Linked DNA regions of Homo sapiens: regions 2 and 3 are each linked to region 1. Evidence: promoter capture Hi-C in human tissues and cell types (Jung and others, 2019). All regions are on one chromosome and are shown on one strand. The core of a region is centred on a gene start or on the middle of the fragment in contact, and the rest is flanking DNA. Distances in the headings are between cores, read along the strand shown. Region 1 holds the start of GAL (galanin and GMAP prepropeptide). Region 2 overlaps TESMIN (testis expressed metallothionein like protein). Region 3 has its middle 44 kb from the start of GAL.

Region 1 (2,891 bases), core at 236-2,735:
GGCTGCAGCCCTGCACCTTCTCCAGCAGCCGCTGGCCTTCGCCAGAGTTCTTGAAAGCCCAGTTGTCCTTCCCCAGCCACGTGGAGGCAGACGGATCTCTCCTGGGGGCAGCCTGTAGCTGTCTGTGCAAAGGTTCCCAAGACTAAAGTGTAGAGGACAGGTAAGATGACACTGTCATGATCATCATTCGTCCTGTGCCCTGTGGACATCAACCCACAGATGTGACATCAACCCATCTGATATTGAGCCCAGTGGGTGGGGAGATCCTAACCCAGCTGCTGCTGTTGAGGACTTGGGTGGTGTCTGGCCAGTGGGAGGGGAGGTCAGGCGAGTTTTCAGCAGATGACCCCGTGCTCTTCGGAAGCCCGGAGGTGCCACACTGTACAAGTGTGATGCCTGGGATCCTGTGCTCCCCTGATGCCTGGGAATGGGGTGAAGGAACAGCCTAGGCTTGGGTTCTCTCCTGGGTTGTTTCGGGACTTGGCCCCAGCTCAGGAAGGGTTTGTGGAGGAGCCAAGGAGGGCCTTGTTCCTGTGGGATGTCTTTGCCTTGGGCACAAGGACAGCCTCTTGCTGCTGCTCTGCCCACCGCCCACCCCTTGGCGGCCTCTGGGAGTCTGGGCTGCTCTCCCTCTGGACCTAACCAGTTGCCCAATGGCTGGACCTGCTTAAAGCTCCCTCTTACAACTGGACCAGGCAGCCAGGGGAGGCACTGAGAGGCCGAGCTTCTGAGCTGGTGCCTGTGGATGCTCGACGGTCCCGCAGCTCCCACAATGGGATGGCCAAGCAGACCCTGAGATCCACAGCCCCCCTTTAGTGAAACAGGAGGGAGGTCGCTGGGCACAGGGAGCCGGGAACGCCTGCCCTCCCCGCCATCGACGGCTCCCGAGGCCTGAACCTTCGCTCCAGCCCCAGCACAAGCCGGCCAGGGCGCAGGGCCAAGTGTTGCCCGCCATTCCCCGGGTACCCCATGACCTCCCAGCTGGGGCTGGCTCGGACTGAGGAGTCGTCCCTGCCCGTCACCCTCTGGGGTCTCCAGTGCTGCGGAGCTCAGCTGGCTTTTGCAGCGGTAGGGGCTGGGAGGAGAAGCTGCAGGGAGACCGCAGGCGTGGGACGTTGTGGGGGGTCAGGCTTGCTCTGGGGCTGGGACCCCGGGGGGAGCAGTGGGGTTGACGCCACAGCGATGACTTGGGCCACGGGTCTGGGGGCTCTCCCGCGGGGCGATTGGGCTCTGTCTTTCGGGATTAGGGTCTCTCCCACAGGGTTTGGGGTTCTCTCTGCAGATTTGGGGGAGTCTCTCCCGCGGGATGAGGGGGGGCTCTCCGCCGCACCCGCCTATGATGGCCCAGAGGACCCGAGCTCGGGTCACTCCCGTCGCCCTCGGGGCTCGGCGAGGGTGCAGGAGGCGGGCGCTGAGCCGGTGACGCGACTCCGGGCGGCTCCCGGGTGCGCCGCATATATAGCAGCGGCGGCGGTGGCGGCGGCCACACCGGGCGGCGGACACGTGGAGGGACCCGGCCCGCGCCTTCTGCCCCTGCTGCCGGCCGCGCCATGCGGTGAGCGCCCCAGGCCGCCAGAGCCCACCCGACCCGGCCCGACGCCCGGACCTGCCGCCCAGACCCGCCACCGCACCCGGACCCCGACGCTCCGAACCCGGGCGCAGCCGCAGCTCAAGGTACTACTGGCGCCGGGCCGACCCTGCGCCCCCGGGAGGCCTCCCCTTCGGCTTTCCTCTGCCCAGGGACGGTTCTGCCAGGGCCCTGGCCCGGCCGCCGCCTCTGCTCCTCCCCGCAGCCCCGGCACTCCTTGCCTCGGGGCGCAGCCCACTCCGGGTTCCGACCCGCCCGCCCTGTCCTTCCCTTCCAGATGGCCCGAGGCAGCGCCCTCCTGCTCGCCTCCCTCCTCCTCGCCGCGGCCCTTTCTGCCTCTGCGGGGCTCTGGTCGCCGGTAAGTGCGGGGCGCGTCTCCTCCGAGCGAAGGGGACATCAGAGCCGGCCGGGCGTGGAGGGCTTCCTGGAGGAGGCAGCCTCCGCCCTGCCCGCGGGGATGGGGGTGGAAAGTGGAAAGGCGGGCGCTGTCCTGGCTGCGGGCGTCGCGGGAAGGGTCCGGGGCTCCCTGGGATTCCCCCCGCGCGCTTCTCCGAGTGTATCAACAGCCCCGGGCTATAACCAGGCCGCCGGGAGAGCTCTGCGCTTCGGGTCAGCGCCTCGGGAAAGCGAGAAGCTCGCCCGTTCCGCAGGGCTTAGTTAGAATGGAGGGCTAGGAGCCACTGGCGTGGCCTCAGCGTCACTAAAGCAGGTGCAGTGCGCTGAGAGTGCGCGGGCTCAGGCCCTCAAGTGAAGTATTTCGTAAATAAAGTGGTTCCATTTTCATGTCAAATATAGCCGACTTAGGGGTAAACCTGGAATTTCGCGAGCTATCCAAAAGCACATGCATTGTTCTAAGTCCTCTGCCATGCCGGGAAAGCCTGGGTGCACCCATTCAGCATAGGCTCCAGGCACAGCCCTGGCATCTGATCCCCTTTTCTCCCTTCAAGGCCAAGGAAAAACGAGGCTGGACCCTGAACAGCGCGGGCTACCTGCTGGGCCCACGTAAGTGACTGACAGCATGGCCTCCCCACTCCTGACCCCACCTGCCCCTCGCTTTGAACCCTGGCTCCTGCCCCTCCGCCTGCGGCTGGGCAGACCCTCTGGCCTCCCTCTTGACCTCATTGCCCGTCTCCATTGCTCTGCACACTTGATCTGTGTACGGTTCTTTCCAGAAGCTTCTCCTGCCCCGGCTCTGCCGCCCTGTCCCGGGGTGAGATTCCCACCCTGGGCTTTGCTCAAGTTCTCCTGGGCTTTCCCGCCTTGCAGTCCTTACAGGCCCTGTTCTGGGCCTCTCCCCAGGCCC
Region 2 (2,891 bases), core at 272-2,771, 41 kb after region 1:
CTATCACCTTCACCACTCCAACTCCAATAGACATCAGACCCAGACAGTTTTTCAGACAAGTTTTTTCAAACGTTCAATGAACAAATAAATCCTACCTTACCCAAACTTTTTTAGAGGCTAGAGAAAAAGAAGCCAGTGGGGTGGGGATGGGGAAGCCTAACTAACGCATTTTATTAGGCAATACAATATTGATACCAAAATGAAAGAATATATGAGAAAGAAAAATTACAGGTCTATCTCACTTGTGAACAAAGATTCAAAAATCCTAAAGAGCGAAATCTTACAGTACATAATAATCAAATTGGGCTTAATCCCTGGAATGCAAAGGCAGATTAACATTGGAAAGTTTGTTGTCATAGATATATTATGAGATTAAAAGAGGAAAACAATCTGATCATTTCAACAAATACATAAAAAGGCACTCAATAAAATTCACCAGTCCTTTATTATAATTCCGATAATTATAATAATAGCAAATCCCTTAGGAAACTAGGAATAGAAGGAAGCATCCTTAACCTGAGAAGGGCACGTAGCAGAGAAGCCAGTCAGTCCTGCAACAGCCACTTCCCCTTATCCTACAGTGGCAGCAATTGTAGTGGAGCATATGGTTGGCTCACCTCAAGAGTGCATTTCCCAGCTTCCTATTTAGTTGGCCCGACCACATGACTAGGCTGTGGCCAAAGGGCTATCAGTGGAAGTGATTATGACAATGCCGGTCTTGCCATGAAAGGTTAAGGAGTGTGCACTTGCCCTCCTGTTTTCTCTTCCCCAGTGTCTGGAAGATGAACATAAGGGTAGGGGCTGGTGCAGCCTTCTTAGACCACAAAATGCAAGCCCTCCATTGAAGATGTCAGGGCAACTAAGACAGAAATCTGAGACAATAACATTGATTAGCCACCATATTAGTCCTGAAATGGTTGTAGTTTTGAGTCTTTGTTATAGCATCTGAGTATGTATTCTACCTAATAAGGGCATCTCTCAAAAACCTACAGCAACTATCTTATTTAGGGCAAGGCAAGGGAATTTTAGAAATATTTAGAATTTAGGAGGAATTCAACAGTGCCCCAGACCAGAACTTCCATTCATCACTATGAGGTTCTAGCCAGTATAATAAGGCAAGGAAAAGGGAAAAGAGTACAAAGATGGGGAAGGTATCACGGTCCAATATCTGTGATAAGATCATTGTTTAAATAGAAAGTTGAAGGAAATCCACAGACAAATCATTACAAATAAGAAGCAGAATTCATGTCTGGAGCGGGATTGAGAACCCCAAATCAGACCCATGTGTAATCAAACCCTGAGAGCTGACGGGGCTGCACTGCAGATATCGTGGACTATATCTGTGTTTTGCCATACATGGTGCTAGACAATTAATTGTCCGTATGGAAAAAAATAAAATTGAATCCCTACCTAATGCCAATCACGAAAATCAATTCCAGGTGATTTAAAGCTCAATGACAAAAGCAGAAATGTAAAACTTTTAGTAGAAATTCTAACATCACATTTATCCCACCTTGATCTAGGTTGCAGTGAGCATCATTCCATTAAAGACGCTGTCCTGGAGGTGCAGACTGCCTCAATGCTGGCACACTGGCAACACTGCAACACTTTTTGGGTCATCCTGCCCTGTGGCTTGCTGAGAGGGTGATGATACTGTTCAAGGAAATACTCATGATACCCTCTGTCAGATTCACTTCCCACAGGCATATTGAATCATGAAATTTTAGTCTTGGTGGTTGAAAAGACCTAAAATGACAGTTTTTTGTTGTTGTTGTTGTTGGAAACGGGTTCTCACTATGTTGTCCAGGCTGGTCTCGAACTCCTCGGTTCAAACAATCCTCCTGCTTCAGCCTCCCAAAGTGCTGGGACTACAGGTGTGAGCTACCATGCCCAGCTCAATGACATATATTCTAAACTCATTCTTAATTCATTGGCCATCCTGACATATTGCTTGCTATAAAACACTTAATAACATTGAATTAAATATTTAAAACCTTTTAGATGGCTACTTGAGCTGGTAAAAAATTAAGGAAACCCAACAGAGGGCAAAATTCAGAGGGCCAAGCTAAAACTGAAGCCTGAAGTGACCTCTGAAGCATCTGCTGATCCCAGCAACCAAAGGCGCTGGTTTTAACTGCTGCGTGGAGGAGAAAGGGGGAACTATGGCAACCCTAACTGTGGCAAACACTTACAAGGACATGTGTGATCTGCTGGGCTGTGCTCTAGGTGCTTTACGTATATTAACCCCAGTCGAAGGCACACTCAGGGTAGAAGGTCTGCTGCAGGATCCACACATGGACCAGAACTGCGGAGGGCTCTATCTACTCTGGGAACAAATGCCCTGAAAACAAATGGCAAGGAAATGTGTGTGTGATCCTGGCTGGTGGGAGGGGAGGAGGCTCACTTCAGGTTGAAATCTGAATTCATACTGTGCAGCCTAATAAAAAAAAAATTAGCCAAAAATTGTTAGTCATCCAAGTTGGAAGTGCCACCAAGCTCCAAGTGGAAGCAAACAAACCTTCTCTGAAGAGCACATTCTCAAAACAAGCCTCAAAGAACTCCCACAGGGAAAGCCCCAGTGATTATAATTCGCAGTTTAAAAAAATCACAAAATATGTGAGGTTCCAAGCCATAAGGAGAAAAATTCAAGAGATGAAACAAACACAGAATGAGACAGAGACTTTACTATAGTTATGAGCTACAGAGAAGATAATTATTTCATATTTTTAAATTTAAAATAAGAAATCAAAAGTGTGAGTAAGCAACAAGAGACTACCAAAAAAAATGACCATCCAGATTTCACCTTCTACTCCACAGAATTCTGGTGGCAATAATTAATCTAGTTAATTAGAGACAAAAGGCCACGTGAAGAAACAATATCACAGACTGTA
Region 3 (2,891 bases), core at 206-2,705, 44 kb before region 1:
CTGGCTCATCCTGGCTGAAAACCTCCCCCACTGAGTACCTTGTGACCCCCACTCCTGCCCGCCAGAGAACAACCCCCCTTTGACTGTAATTTTCCTTTACCTACCCAAATCCTATAAAACGGCCCCACCCCATCTCCCTTCACTGACTCTTTTTGGACTCAGCCCGCCTGCACCCAGGTGATTAAAAGCTTTATTGCTCACACAAAGCCTGTTTGGTGGTCTCTTCACATGGACGCACATGAAAGTGGTGATGCACACCTGTCATCCCAGCTACTCCCGGGGCTGAAGCTGGATCACTTGAGCCCTGGGGTTCCAGGCTGCACTGAGCTGTGATCACACAACTGCACTCCAGCCTGGGCAACAGAGCAAGACCCTGTCTCTAACAAATAGAATAAAAAGGCAATTGCTAGGCCAGGCATGGTGGCTCATGCCTATAATCCCACCACTTTGGGAGGCCAAGGTGGATGGATCACCTGAGGCCAGGAGTTCAAGACCAGCCTGGCCAACATGGAAAAAACCCATCTCTACTAAAAATACAAAAAAAAAAAAAAAAAAAAAAAAAGCTGGGCATGGTGGTGTGTGCCTGTAATCCCAGATTCTCAGGAGGCTGAGGCGGGAAAATCGCTTGAACCTGGGAGATGGAGGTTGCAGTGAGCCGACATTTCACTCCAGCCTGGGTGACAGAGCAAGACTCCGTCTCAATTGCTGCATCTTGAGTCTCCTATTGTTGCTGTTGTGAGACCTTGGTTCTCATCTTCTTAGTTTAAAATAATTTAAACAAGAGACACACAGCAGAGGAGAGGTAACAGAGTAATTTATTGCAAAAGAAAAAGAATATTCTGAAAGTTAGATGCCGAATAGACAGTACACCCTGAGAGAGAGAATTCGGGGTGGGCTGCTTGTGAGGATGAGACAGCAAAGACTGGGACTAGGTGTGAGAAACAAACTCGCCTGTCCAAACCCAAAGGATGGACTCAAGAGACCCGGAGAACAGCGGAAGTGGGACTCTTAATGATGGTCTTGTAAGCTCGGGTGTCTGATGAGTAGGCACACCCAGCACGGTTTCAACAAGCAATTTATCCCCTAGTGCACAGGTCTCTCCCCCGTTTCCTCATAGGCTGAGTACTACGGGTCACAGTCTTCCCAGACATCGCCTATCAGTTGTTGGGTTGGGGCTGTAGGTGTTTTATTTTGGGGGGTTGTCCTGCTGCATTTTGTTGCAGCCCAAGCATCTTCCATGGAAGAGGCACTGAACCACCAGGCAGACAAGATCACTCAACCCACTGATGGGAGCCAGCCTTAGTGGCTACACCAACCCAACAAAGACAGGCACATGGACGGAGCGGCCACAGCTGAGACAGAGGGCAGGCATGAGGCCAACAGTGTGGACTGCAACCTCCCAAAACCATCTGGCTCCTTCTCTTATCTGAATGTCCAACCTGCCAGCAACAGGAGACCAGCATCCCACTGCCAGTGTGGCCCAGGTTCACAGGAGACCAACCAGCCACTTGACAGCAAGTGGACCCACTGGGCCTCTTTCATTCTGGAAAGGCCAGTGGTTTGCACAAAAATAGACATCTCTTCTAGGTAGGAGTTTGTCTTTCCTGGCTCCAGGGCCTCAGTTGGCATCACTGTCCAAGCGCTTAAGGAATGTCCTGTTCATCGGCGTAGAAGGGCTCACAACATCACTTCTGATCAGGGAAGCCACTTTGCAGTGAAGGAGATGTGGGAAAGGGTCTGTGTCCCTAGGATCTACTCATTGCGTCTCATTGTTCGGAAGCTGCTGGACTGGCTGGGTGTTGGAGTGGCCTCCCACACGGAGAGCTGAAGCAATGCCCTGTAACTACAGGCCCCGTCATCCCGGATGGCATGGGGACATTGAGTCAGAGGCCTTCATATGGCACTGTGTTCTCAGCAGAAAGCACACATAGGTCTGGGAGCTGAGGGGTGGGAGCAGGGCGGCCCACTCAGCATCACTCCTGGTCACCCCTGTTTGTGTTTTCCATCTCCCCAGTCTTGGCTCTGCAAGGTTAGCGGTTCTGGTTCCAAAGGAGGTGTTTGCTTGCCAGAGGACAGAACTACAAGCTGTAGCTTCCACCAGGGTACTGCAGGCTCCTTTTGGCCCAGCCAGCAAGCCGTAAGAGGAGCCACCCTCTTAGTGGGGGTGGCTGGCCCTGAGCAGCAGGGGGACATGGGGGCTGCTGTCACCTGAGAGCAGGCGGCAGAGAGGAATACATGTGGGACTCAGACACCCGACGTGGGCAGGTGCTTCTTGGCACCCCCTCTTCCGATTATGACCGGAAATGGATCTGAATAGCAACTCTGACCCCAAAAGGGCATGGTTAGCAGGGACTCACAGGGGCTCACAGTCTTCAGGAACATAGGGCTTGGGTCCAGCCACCAGATGCACCTGATGCCAACAGGAGACAGCTGAGCGCCAGGGCAATTTAGAACAGAAAGTAGAGGCGGGGACAAGAGGGACCACTGTGTTCCCAGATGAACGCAGTTGGCTATGGGGCTGTCATTTTTTCCATTAATTTCCCTCTTCTAAATACACAGAGAGAGGGGCCCTGGAAGGGTGGTTTCCCACATGTGTGGAAAAGGGGATCCGGCCAGTGCAAGGGCGGATAATGGCAGACACAGGGTAGAATCAGACCTCCTTAGACAGAGGATGCTCTGCCCAGCAGCTGCGAGGCATGTGGTCAGGGGCAGCCCCCAGCTGCCAGCTCCCCCAGGGTTTGCCTTCCCAGCTCAGCACAGCCAGGGACTGAGCAAGGCAGCAGGACCAAGGTCACTCTCTTATGGGGCGCTCCCCCCAAGTGCTAAGCCCAGCCATCTCAGGCCAGCACGGGGCTGTTCTGCTGGCCAGCCTTCACCCTGCACTCCTGGCT

What was found. Contacts are between HindIII fragments. The study calls those that stand out against the background at their distance.
Region 2: a fragment that was not itself captured here is called in contact with the fragment with the promoter of GAL in region 1 in 1 of the 25 tissues and cell types used here (mesendoderm cells).
Region 3: a fragment that was not itself captured here is called in contact with the fragment with the promoter of GAL in region 1 in 4 of the 25 tissues and cell types used here (H1 embryonic stem cells, liver, mesendoderm cells and 1 more).

Annotation. Positions count from the first base shown.
Region 1 is chr11:68,683,059-68,685,949 of GRCh38, forward strand. It overlaps GAL (galanin and GMAP prepropeptide), which reads left to right and starts at 1,486. Exons shown (of 6, transcript NM_015973.5): 1 at 1,486-1,674; 2 at 1,866-1,946; 3 at 2,536-2,590. The coding sequence starts at 1,866. All of the region lies in intron 2 of LOC107984343 (a long non-coding RNA gene), which reads right to left. RefSeq lists enhancers at 205-880, 1,557-2,232. The HindIII fragment of the contact is 15,033 bases long and covers 1-2,891 here.
Region 2 is chr11:68,723,877-68,726,767 of GRCh38, forward strand. All of the region lies in intron 6 of TESMIN (testis expressed metallothionein like protein), which reads right to left. Among named protein-coding and RNA genes, the nearest start is that of TESMIN, 26 kb to the right of the region's middle. The HindIII fragment of the contact is 5,580 bases long and covers 1-2,891 here.
Region 3 is chr11:68,639,198-68,642,088 of GRCh38, forward strand. No RefSeq gene overlaps it. Among named protein-coding and RNA genes, the nearest start is that of GAL, 44 kb to the right of the region's middle. The HindIII fragment of the contact is 5,691 bases long and covers 1-2,891 here.